Linked DNA regions of Homo sapiens: regions 1 and 3 are each linked to region 2. Evidence: promoter capture Hi-C in 16 types of primary human blood cells and fetal thymus (Javierre and others, 2016). All regions are on one chromosome and are shown on one strand. The core of a region is centred on a gene start or on the middle of the fragment in contact, and the rest is flanking DNA. Distances in the headings are between cores, read along the strand shown. Region 1 overlaps NAPEPLD (N-acyl phosphatidylethanolamine phospholipase D). Region 2 holds the start of DNAJC2 (DnaJ heat shock protein family (Hsp40) member C2). Region 3 overlaps ARMC10 (armadillo repeat containing 10).

Region 1 (3,957 bases), core at 606-3,105, 230 kb after region 2:
CTCAATTGATAAAGTGAAAAAACTGGCAGCTGGGCGCGGTGGCTCACGTCTGTGATCCCAGCACTTTGGGATGTGGAGGCAGGCAGATCACAAGGTCAGGAGATCAGTACCATCCTGGCTAACATGGTGAAACCCTGGTTCTACTAAAAATACAAAAAATTAGCCGGGAGAGGTGGTACGTGCCTATAGTCCCAGCTACCCAGGAGGTTGAAGCAGAAGAATCACTTGAACCCAGGAGGCGGAGGTTGCAGTGAGCTGGGATCGCGGCACTGCACTCTAGCCTGGGCGACAGAGTGAGACTCAATCTCAGAAAAAAAAAAAAAGAAAAAAAGAAAAAACTGGCAAAAACCAGCAGATGGTGACAGAAGTGATCCCTAGCTGCCCTCATTGCTCATTAGCCTAAGACTCTCCCACCATCACCATGACAGTTTATAAATGGCCATGGCAACAACCTAGAAGTTACTGCCCCTTTCCATGGCAATGACCAAGAAGTTACCACCCCATTCCTAGAAAGTTCTAAATAATCTGCCCTTTAATTTGCATTAACCCATTCCCTAATTTACATATAATTAAAAGTGGGTATAAGTGAGTGTAAATACAGTTACCAACCCCTCATATGTTGCCAACTCTGAGTGCACTTACTGCCTATAACTTAGCACTGCTCCTCAAGGAGCAGTATCGTTTAAAAAAAATTGCTGGCCAGCACCACTGGCTTGCCGTTGAATTATATTTCGTTTGTGAGGCCAAAAACCCTCCTGGGCTAAGCCTCAATTTTGGGGCTCGCCTCCCCTGCATCATCAGTAAGTTGTATCTTCAGATAGATCCAGTAAAATCAAAATATACGTGAAACAAAAATCTCACTATTCAGAGGGGAGTTTGCTTGAGACTTACTTATTTTATAGCAATTTGTACAAGAAAGACTTTTGCTTGTTTTATTTTTCAGCAGAAAGTGTACCAAAGGGAGATGGTTTTGCCTCCTGTGACTTAATTCCTGTGCAGAATTTGTTTTGTTTTTACAATCTAGCCTTGACCTGGCCTTCAGACTTGGTTTCTAGCTCATCCTCCCCAAAACTGCATGTTTTATCCCAGTGGTTCTTAATTCTCAACATCCATAGTCCTGCGCAGAATCTTAAAGTTTGGTTAAGTGAAACAGATTTTAGAATTTAGTGTATATCTCAAAGGTCAGAATTAAGAAATTGCCATGTTTCTTCAGGTGGTTTATGAAATACCAGCATGTAGACCCAGAAGAAGCTGTAAGGATTCACACTGATGTCCAAACAAAGAAATCTATGGCAATTCACTGGGGAACTTTTGCCTTAGCAAATGAGGTAAGTTTGATTGCGATAAAAATAACTTTGTGTGTTTGACCAATGATAGGATTCAGGCATCACTGTTCCTTAGTTTTCAGACCCAAGACTCTGGAATCAGATACTGCACAGTCATCACAGTCACTGCATGAATTAGGGTGGTAAATCATACTAATTAGTAGAACAATACACACATATACAGTCAGAAAAAAAAAACAACACAACCTCATTGTGTTTTCTTTTGGCTTATTTCTGAAGTTAGTAAAGCTTGTATTTGTATAACCAAAAATCTGTATGTGGTCTGGAGACTAGAAAAGCAAGCCATCATGTCTCACCCCTCAAGCAGGCTCTCATGCTAGCAGAAGACAGAAGTCATGTATGTGATACAGATGTTAGAAGGGGAAAGTGCTGTAATGTGGAACAGATGAGATGGTCTCAGAATCAGGATGTTTGCTGATGGCAGGGATCAGAGAGGGCGTGATGGAATAAGTGACATTTGAACTTGGCTCTGAGAGGGCAGGGAGGAAGGCATTTTCAGAGGAGGAAAGGGCAGAGCATAGGCTCGGAGGCAGCTAGTGTGGGGAGTACTTGAATCAGTTCAGCAGGAGAGTGGAGGGCAATAGGGAGAAGTAAGGCTAGTGTGGAACTTTCTAGAAATATATTCAGTAAACATTGACTCGGTGTCTGCTATGTGCCAGGCATAGGGATAAATGTGATTTTATTCCTAGATTAAAACAGAAGAGATAATTTTTCCTTAAGGCAGATGGACCCTAGAACTCTGCCACTAGCCTGGGTCCTGGGATCAAGCAGAGGATAGTATAAAGCTTTCTCTCCTTTCCTGGATCCAAGGTCTTCTCTAAACAAAACTTAGAAATGTATGGTTAGGCCCAGTGCAGTGGCTCACACCTGTAATCCCAGCACTTTGGGAGGCTGAGGCAGGTGGATCACTTGAGGTCAGGAGTTCGAGACCAGCCTGGCCAACATGGCGAAACCCCGTCTCTACTAAAAATACAAAATAGCCAGGCGTGGTGGTGCGTGCCTGTAATCCCAGCTACTCGGGAGGCTGAGGCAGGAGAATCGCCTGAACCCAGGAAGTAGAGGTTGCAGTAAGTCGAGATTGTGCCACTATACTCCAGCCTGGGCAAAAGAGTGAGATTTGGCTGGGCACCTGTGGCTCACACCTGTAATCCCAGCACTTTGGGAGTCTGAGGCGGGTGGATCACCTGAGGTCAGGAGTTCGAGACCAGCCTGGCCAACATGATGAAAACCCATCTCTAATAAAATTAGCTGGGCGTGGTGGCAGGCGCCTATAATTCCAGCTACTCGGGAGCCTGAGGCAGGAGAATAACTTGAACCTGGGAGACAGAGGTTGCAGTGAGCCGAGATTACGGCACTTCCTTCCAGCCTGGGTGAAAGAGCGAAACTCTGTCTTGAGAAAAAAAAAAAAAAAAAAAGTGAGACTCTGTCTTAAAAAAAAAAGTGAGACTCTGTCTTTAAAAAAAAAAAAAGTGTGGTTAGGACTTGGCTTCTTTACTTTCTGTGGCATCTTCCACATCCCAGAGCCTCTCTGCAGGAACTCAGTGTTTTCTTGCAGTTTTAGTTACTCCTCTGTCTCACTTATGGCCTGCCCTCTCCCAAAGATGCAGTGTGTTCCAAAATTACCTAATACACTGCCTGCCCATTCCCCCACTCCCTAATCAAAATTCCTGTGCCATGAGGCAGCAACCCTGAGCCACAATGCAGCAATTCTTGGCCACTGTTGGGAGAAGGAATAGAATAATGACTAACCATAGGGTTGTGGGGAGGATAAATGAGAATATAAATGTGGGTGTGTGGGTGCGTATTTGGAGAAGGGAGAAGTTTAAGACTGGTTTTCAGTGACAATTTCTTATTCCATCTATATATGTGTGCGTGTATGCACATATTCCATTATGTATATTCCATATATATGGGACTTAGATGAAGTAATGGTATTTTATTAAACCTATGCAAAGAAAGGAATCAAGGTTGACTCCTAGATTTTTAGCTTCAATAGCTGGTTAGACAGTTGTGCTCTTTACTGAGATGGGGAAGATGAGAGAGGATTAAAAAATCCTGTCTTTGAGAATTATTGTGTTATTCAGCCTTCAAGAATTATTCCTGTTATAAACCTAACCGCCATCTTTATTTCTTAATGAGAATGTTAATAAAAACTCATTTGACTTTCAGCATTTTGGAATTTGTTCATGTTTTGATGTTGAATAAACCTCATAACTATGAGTTAGTTGAATTATAAAGCAGATATAATCTTCAGAGAGGATATGTTACCCTTTACTTCTTTTTTTTTTTATTATACTTTAAGTTCTGGGATACATGTGCAGAACATACAGGTTTGTTACATAGGTATACACGTGCCATGGTGGTTTGCTGCACCCATCAACCCTTCATCTACATTAGGTATTTCTCCTAATGCTATCCCTCCCGTAGCCCCCCACCCCCTGACAGGCCCCAATGTGTGATGTTCCCCTCTCTGTGTCCATGTGTTCTCATTGTTCAACTCCCACTTATGAGTGAGAACATGCGGTGTTTGGTTTTCTGTTCTTGTGTTAGTTTGCTGAGAATGATGGTTTCCAGCTTCATCCATGTCCCTGCAAAGGACATGAACTCATCC
Region 2 (3,945 bases), core at 216-2,715:
GAACCTGGGAGGCAGAGATTGCAGTGAGCCGAAATCAGGCCACTGCACTCCAGCCTGGGCGACAGAGCAAGCCTCTGTCTCAGAAAAGAAAACAACAAAAAAACAAAAACCCATGTTAGAGTTAATGGTAAAATTGAATGGGAGGAGGTGTGAGGAAAAAAATATATTAATATGAAGAAAGTGGAGTCAGGTTACTTTGCACCTTGGAGCATGTTTTAACAGTGGTTGCATTAGTAGGGATCAGGAAGAGGTTTTGGGGCAGAAGATTAGTTCAATTTTTTTTTTTTTAAAGACGGGGTCTCACTGTTACCCAGGCTGGAGCGCAATGGTGTGATCTCAGCTCACTGCAACCTCCACCTCCCGGCCTCAACGATCTTCCCACCTCAGCCTCCCTTAGTTCAATTTTTGAAAAGTCAGTTTTGAAGTGACAATTTTATCATGCAGCAGATATACAGACCAATTAAATGTATTTAATTGGCCTGGCACAGTGACTCACGCCTCTAATCCCAGAGTTTTGGGAGACTGAGGCAGGAGGATCCCTTGAGGCCAGGAGTTCAAGACCACCTTGGGCAACATAGTGAGACCCTGTCTCTACAAAAAAAAATATACATATATATATATATAATATATTTAAAAACTTTAATTGTGAAAATATAATGAAATTAGTAAGTTATTTTCTAATTTACTAATTTCTGGTGGTCCTTGCTAAAGAGTGGCATATCAAGTTTATTTTATTGAACCTGTTTCAGATACTGCTGTTGGGGGTGAGCCTTTACCCACTGTTTGTTTTTGCTAGTTTTTGCTTTTGACTGCAGTCTTAGAAGGAAGCATATAGTAGGAATACAATTGATTTTATTATACATTAAAAAATTAAGTCCCAGAGTCCTATAATTGGGAATATCTTGAATAAAAACTTCATTAGAACAAGGTAAAAATATTGCTGGCCTTGGAATACAATCTAACACACTAGAGAGAGGTTTCTTCTCCAAGCGAGTATTAAAAGATATAATGCAGGTAAATTAGTAATAGCACGACAAATATTAGCTGCTATTATCATCATCAAGTTAAACACAAATGTATCACAAATACACGTACGTAATTCTCCGCAAATGTATATACTAGTCGTCGATACTGGTTCATACAGGTATTTTCATTTTTTACTTAAAAGTATAGCGCTCCTGGGAAAATCACTGATTAGGTTCAGATTAATACATAAAGCAGTAAGAACTTAAAGATAATATAAAAAGAACTGCTTTTAAAGGTTATGTTCTATGTATTGCACTGGGACGTGGAATATAATCCTTTTTACAGGAAAACTGATGCGCCTAGGAACCATTCTCTCGTGCGACTTGGTCTCCAGCCGGATCTCAGTCAGTATAGAACTAGGTTACCGCACACGTTGGCGGGGGTGGGAGGGTGTGAGACTGGCCTCCACACCACGAAAGATCCATCCCGGAAGTGCTTACTGGTCGTCTCCATGCGCCGGTTCCTGGGCGTCTTAGAGCCAAGGCGCGAGGCTCGGAGTGAGAGGTAGAGCTGGAGGGGACCCTAAGCGCCCTCCGCCCGGGACGTGAGCCGCTGCGCCCACCGGGCTAGACCCGGCGCCATCATGCTGCTTCTGCCAAGCGCCGCGGACGGCCGGGGCACCGCCATCACCCACGCTCTGACCTCTGGTAAGTGCCCACCCAACCTCGGTTCCTTCTCACCTCAGCTGCCCCTGCCTCAGTCCTCCGCCTCGGCAACCCTGGGCTCTCTCTACCCTTGACCCTGGCGACTAGCCCCGGGGCCGTATGGGGCCGTGACGAGTGCCTTTTTGCTCCGTGTTTTAAAGTAATCCTACCCTAGATTAGAAGGAAGGAGGGTGAGGGGTGCCTTCCTTTTGCTCCTACCGTTGCTTCCTCCTCTCGCCGCTGCTGACTCATGGATTGGGCTGAGCATTTCGGGACGGAACCCCCCAGCACCCCAGAAAGGTTCTCATAAGCATCTCCTTGCCTACGGTGGAAAGACTACGCGCAGCGAGCACCCCACGTGCCTGGGGTCGTACAAAGCTTTGCTACTGGCGCTCTCTTAAACAACTTTCTCCCTCTCTACGTTTGCTCCGGCCTTGTTTTTTAAATGTCACAACTCAGACACCGCTCCTCATACTCGGTGTTCAAAGACTGTGCTGCTGAAAAGATCCGCGTAGACTTTGAAAGGCAGTTATTACAAGTGAAACTTGTCCTGCTGCTGTAGGTTTTAGTTTTATGGCCCAGGACAGTCATGAGTATTGTAAACTTAAGAGTCTTCAGGTCCAGTGATCTACAGTAATTCCCATAGCCAGTCACATAGGCGCTTGTTGAATGTGATTTTGAACATAACCCATGGCACGTGTTGCATTTATGTGTCTCCGTGTGCCTCTTACAACTAGAGCAAAAGGCTTAAAAGGCAGTGTTCTTAAAAGCCACACACCCATACTACACAGGTAGTACCTTTTTGACAGTGTTTTAATCCTCTCCTGTGTAAGGTGGAGGAAATCTTAAAATAAGTTGTTCAGGGATTTTCCTTTTTTGAATTGCTAGTATACACATGTACAGTGATTTACCCCCACTTCCCAGGAATAGATGATACCTTTACTACAAGTTTGTAATTTCAGAGAGTTTCTGTGGTCTCATTCAAGCTTCCTAGGAACTGAATGAGATAAATAGGTATTGTTCCCATTTTACAGGTGAAGACATCCTGATTCATTTCAGGTCACATAGCCACTGTCAGACCTAGTCTAAAACCCAGAGTGTCTGGTTTCAGATTGAGAGCTTGTTCCACTACAGCTTAGCTGCATTAGTAAATTCCCATTTGCTGCTTGGAAAATTGCTTTCAGGACAAATTCTTGTTAGTGAATTCTTAAAATTTTTAAGAGCTATATTCAAGATTTTAATAATTAAGACAGTTTGAGTTGTCTGGGTGCGGTGGCTCACGTCTATAATCCCAGCACTTTGGGAGGCCGAGGCAGGTGGATCACCTGAGGTCAGCAGTTCGAGACCAGCCTGGCTAACAGGGTGAAACCCTGTCTCTACTAAAAATACAAAAAAGTAGCTGGGCGTGGTGGCGGGCGCCTATAATCCCAGCAACTTGGGAGGCTGAGGCAGAAGAATCGTTTGAACCCGGGAGGCGGAGGTTGCAGTGAGCCGAGATTGCGCTATTGCACTACAGCCTGGACAACAAGAGCAAAACTCCGTCTCAAAAAATAAAAAGATAGTTTGAGTTGTTTTTAGATTTTTTATTTTTGGTGAGGCTAGCTCTTCGTGACAATTTATCACTATTTATTACTTTATTAAAATTATTTGTCTAGGCCGGGCGCGGTGGCTCACGCCTGTAATCCCAGCATTTTGGCAGGCCGAGGTGGGTGGATCACGAGGTCAGGAGATCAAGACCATCCTGGCTAATATGGTGAAACCCCGTCTTTACTAAAAATGCAAAAAATTAGCCGGGGGTGGTGGCGGGTGCCTGTAGTCCCAGCTACTCGGGAGGCTGAGGCAGGAGAATCGCTTGAACCCGGGAGGCGGAGCTTTCAGTGAGCCAAGATCGCGCCATTGCACTCCAGCCTGGGTGACAGAGCAAGACTCCGTCCCAAAAAAAAAAAAAAAATTGTCCAGGTGGGTGCAGTGGCTCACGCCTGTAATGCCAACACTTTGGGAGGCCGAGGCAGGCAGATCACCTGAGGTCGGGAGTTCGAGACCAGGCTGACCAACATGGAGAAACCCCATCTCTACTAAAAATACAAAATTAGCTGGGCATGGTGGCGCATGCCTGTAATCCCAGCTGCTTGGAAGGCTGAGGCACAAGAATCACTTGAACCCGGGAGGTGGAGACGGCATTGAGCCGAGATCTCGCCATTGCATTCCAGCCTGGGCAGTAAGAGCAAAACTTCATCTCAAAAAAAAAAAAAAGTAAAAAAATAAATAATTTGTC
Region 3 (3,907 bases), core at 685-3,184, 250 kb after region 2:
TTCAAGTTCAAGGATGTAGTAAGCTATGATTGTGCCTGTGAACAGCCACTGCACTCCAGCCTGGGCAATATAGTGAGACCCTTAGACCCCATCTTCACCCCCGACAAAAAAGAAATAAAGAAATATAATCTTTAAAACAACAACAAAAAAATCTCTCAAAGCTCAGCTCATTTCTACTTAAACAGTAAAAATTTTGGAACTGTTTGGTTACCAAGACTAAATAAATAACAATATGGCCCCTTTTGGTAAGCTACCATGAATTTTTGAGGTTATCTTTTAATGTGAAAGTGTTTTACAATCATATAAATAAGCACAGTGATAAAAACTGATAGATCGGTTGATTGATTGAGATGGGGGTCTCACTATATTGCTGAAGCTGGTCTTGAACTCCTGGCCTCAAGCAATCCTCTCACTTTGGCCTCCCAAAGTAACTAGGATTACAGGCAATGAGCCACCATGCCCAGCAATGATATAAATAATAAGCAAATAAATGTTATCTAATGGGTGACTAGCTAAAATATCAGCATTCTTATCACTTATAACTGAAAAGTCAGTAATAACAAGACTCAAATAGAATGCCTCTTTTTAATTTATTAATTATTATTCTTAAGTTTTAGGGTACATGTGCACAATGTGCAGGTTAGTTACATATGTATACTTGTGCCATGCTGGTGCACTGCACCCACTAACTCGTCATCTAGCATTAGGTATATCTCCCAATGCTATCCCTCCCCCCTCCCCCCACCCCACAACAGTCCCCAGAGTGTGATGTTCCCCTTCCTGTGTCCATGTGTTCTCATTGTTCAATTCCCACCTATGAGTGAGAATATACAGTGTTTGGTTTTTTGTTCTTGCGATAGTTTACTGAGAATGATGATTTCCAATTTTGTCCATGTCCCTACAAAGGACATGAACTCATCATTTTTTATGGCTGCATAGTATTCCATGGTGTATATGTGCCACATTTTCTTAATCCAGTCTATCATTGTTGGACATTCGGGTTGGTTCCAAGTCTTTTAAAAACAAAGGCCATGTGAAACCATACTTTCTACAAGATACCTGGAACTAAAATAAGCATAGAGGGGGGTACTAACTCAGGGAAATGGGACAAATGTGCTCTTCACTAGAGCTGGGAAGGAACCTGGATATTATTTTAGAAAAATTTTTTATTACAAAGGCAACAGATGTTTACCATAGCACTTTCAAAAAAATAGAAAACCACAAAGAAAAAGAAAATTTACCCGTATTTACATAACCAGAAATGATCACGATTAAGTGTTGGTATTTTTGGCCAGGTGCGGTGGCGCATGCCTGCATTCCCAGCACTTTGGGAGGCCAAGGTGGGCAGATCACTTGAGCTCAGGAGTTCAAGAGCAACATGGGCAACATGGCAAAACCCCGTCTCTACCAAAAATACAAAAATCAGCCAGGCGTGGTGGCATGTGACCAAAGTCCCAGGGAGGCTGAGGTAGGAGGATTGTTTGAGCCTGGAAGCTCAAGGCTGCAGTGAGCAGAGATCATGCCACTGCAATCTAGCCTGGGCAACAGAGTGAGATTCTGTGTCAAAAAAGAGAAAGAAAAGTTTTAGTATTTTCTTTTTGGTCTTTTATGCAAATATCCTGTATAGTCACAATTTCTTTGATCATGTTGTAGATACTAATTTATTTGAGGATGACATAATACTTTGCTTAATTTTACTGTTTTTATCAAATATTTCTTTATTTTTAGAAAATTACTACTTGGTCATGATAAAAATTTTAAGTAATGCAAAAGAGAACAAGGTAAAAACAAAAGCCACCATGCTTTTGGCCCCTTCCAATCCTCAGCAGTGTCCACTGGTAACATTTCTTGAATATGCAGAGATTGTCTTTTTCAAAGAGATGCTATTAATAAATTAAGGCCTCTGGGGTTGAAAGAGTAAAGGAGACTTCTGACCCTTCTTTAGTGCACTCCGTGGAGGTCACTATCAGATCTCATCTGGCCTGACTGACTATCAGCAACACTAGGAATAAGTGTTAGGAAAAAAACACCTGGCTCCAATGTCAATGAAGTTTCAATTAGAAAAATAGGAACAGGAGGTATGAAATAGGATGGTCCTGAACTTACGAAATAAGCCTGGATGAAGTCAAAATCTAAGACCCACTAATAGTCAATGAGGGCAGGTATACAACCAGGGAATAGCAACAGCAATAGCTATTTGGTATCCTGTATTAAAATCTGATGTTGCTATTCTTTGTAGAAGGGAGTTAAATATGAGAAAAAAATATATATACAGTTAGAGTACAACTACAGATTAAACAAATATATGGATTTTGGTTTGAAACCATATTAAGACATGTTTTTTTTCCTCGTCACATGCACCATCTTGTGGTGACACTAGGACATTTTAAACCATTAGTTTTGTTTTCATTGAGGATGTAACAAGCACACAGTTTATGTTAATCCTCCACTATCTGCATTAAGTTATCAATCAGTGGTGTACCCAAACGGTTATTACAGTACAGTGAGATCCCTGACTTAAGCAAAATACGATATTTAAACATTCATTTTAGTGGTTATTTACTAAGAAAATACCTAAATCAGACACACTTTCCCACTAACAAATGGATGGCTATCCAAAAGTTCATTTGCAAGTTGGAACTTTAAACTCAATTTTTATGGAAAATCAATGTTGTAATTGGTAGGTATGTTCCAAGGCAGACCAAGAAAGCAAATTTTCTATCCTAGAAATACTGTACTAAGCAATGTAATGGAAAAACACAACACAACAAAACAAAAATAGAACATACTATTGTGGTCTGGGTCATCTTTTAAAAAGTCAAAAAATATATGAAAACACAGACGATGTCTGAGACAGATATATACAGCCCCAAGGCCAGACTTGCCTGGCTGAACTCAGCCTGGCTCTGGACTCAGAGTTCCTCCTGAGGTTCTGGGTAAAGCAGCTGCAGAGTCAGGCAGAGGAGAGATTTCTCCTACAGTGGCAACAACATACAGTAAAGAGGGAAGGAGTTTCCCCAGGGGTTCAGGGGCTGGAAGTTATCTTGTTCCACTGGAGACAGACATGCTGATGCACGTTGGAAACTGCCTGGGAATGGTGCAATATTGCTAGAAGACTACTCTTACATTTAATTTTCAATACCTTTTGGTACATCTTGGATCACATCCAAACAAGTTTGGCTATTGGAAAAGAGGAAAGTCCATGTACAAACACCTTGGAAACATAAAAGCAGGACTACAGTAAGACTCTCCTGTAATCACATCTTGATAAACTCAAAAATAACTGCAGTGATGTTGAATATTTGGAGTATGGCTTCACATTTGGTCTTTCTAAAATGCTTATGCATTTGTCTCTCAACTGTTCCAGAGAACACAGACTAACATGGTAAAAAGCCTTGATGAACAATCAACCCGACTTATCAGAACTTTTAATTAGCCTACAATCTATTTTTATGCTACTTTTTCTTGAAAAATGGCAATTGATAAGAATGCACACTAATATGAGAGATTTACTTAAGAAACTTTTTATAGGGCATCTCCTAAGGTCCTACTTAATTCAGCTCAATATCTGTTGCCTCTTATATCAACCTAACTGGACAGAGTGAAGCACTGAGACATCTTTCATATATTCAATTCACTTCATTTACTACAGCTTAAAAGTTGTTTTAGAAATATTTTTCAACAAATAACTGAATCAAAAAAATGATTTGTTAACCCTGAGGTAAGCAAAATATTCAACTAACCACTACTATTACTCAGACTCCTTTTAATCACAATGTTCCTATATTTGGTGGGGGGAAGCTAGCTTCTCAGAAAACCAAATGAACAGGAATCTGTTGATAAGTGAAACAACAGATGGTTTTCAAAAGTTAATTTTGCAATGGAATATTTGGGACTAAAAATAATA

Evidence for each region. The method cuts DNA at HindIII sites, captures the fragments that hold promoters and counts their contacts. A CHiCAGO score of 5 or more calls a contact.
Region 1: a contact is called between a fragment that was not itself captured here and the fragment with the promoter of DNAJC2 in region 2, in 1 of 17 cell types (erythroblasts). The highest score is 5.9, in erythroblasts.
Region 3: a contact is called between a fragment that was not itself captured here and the fragment with the promoter of DNAJC2 in region 2, in 2 of 17 cell types (erythroblasts and megakaryocytes). The highest score is 8.9, in erythroblasts.

The regions. Positions count from the first base shown.
Region 1 is chr7:103,112,431-103,116,387 of GRCh38, reverse strand. It overlaps NAPEPLD (N-acyl phosphatidylethanolamine phospholipase D), which reads left to right. Exons shown (of 5, transcript NM_001122838.3): 4 at 1,214-1,328. Among named protein-coding and RNA genes, the nearest start is that of NAPEPLD, 35 kb to the left of the region's middle. The HindIII fragment of the contact is 557 bases long and covers 1,577-2,133 here.
Region 2 is chr7:103,342,287-103,346,231 of GRCh38, reverse strand. DNAJC2 (DnaJ heat shock protein family (Hsp40) member C2) reads left to right here and starts at 1,465. Exons shown (of 17, transcript NM_014377.3): 1 at 1,465-1,673. The coding sequence starts at 1,610. It also overlaps a transcript of PMPCB not described here. RefSeq lists an enhancer at 1,283-1,522. The HindIII fragment of the contact is 5,590 bases long and covers 1-2,050 here.
Region 3 is chr7:103,092,776-103,096,682 of GRCh38, reverse strand. The region is part of intron 5 of ARMC10 (armadillo repeat containing 10); the gene reads right to left. Among named protein-coding and RNA genes, the nearest start is that of ARMC10, 20 kb to the right of the region's middle. The HindIII fragment of the contact is 4,149 bases long and covers 1-3,907 here.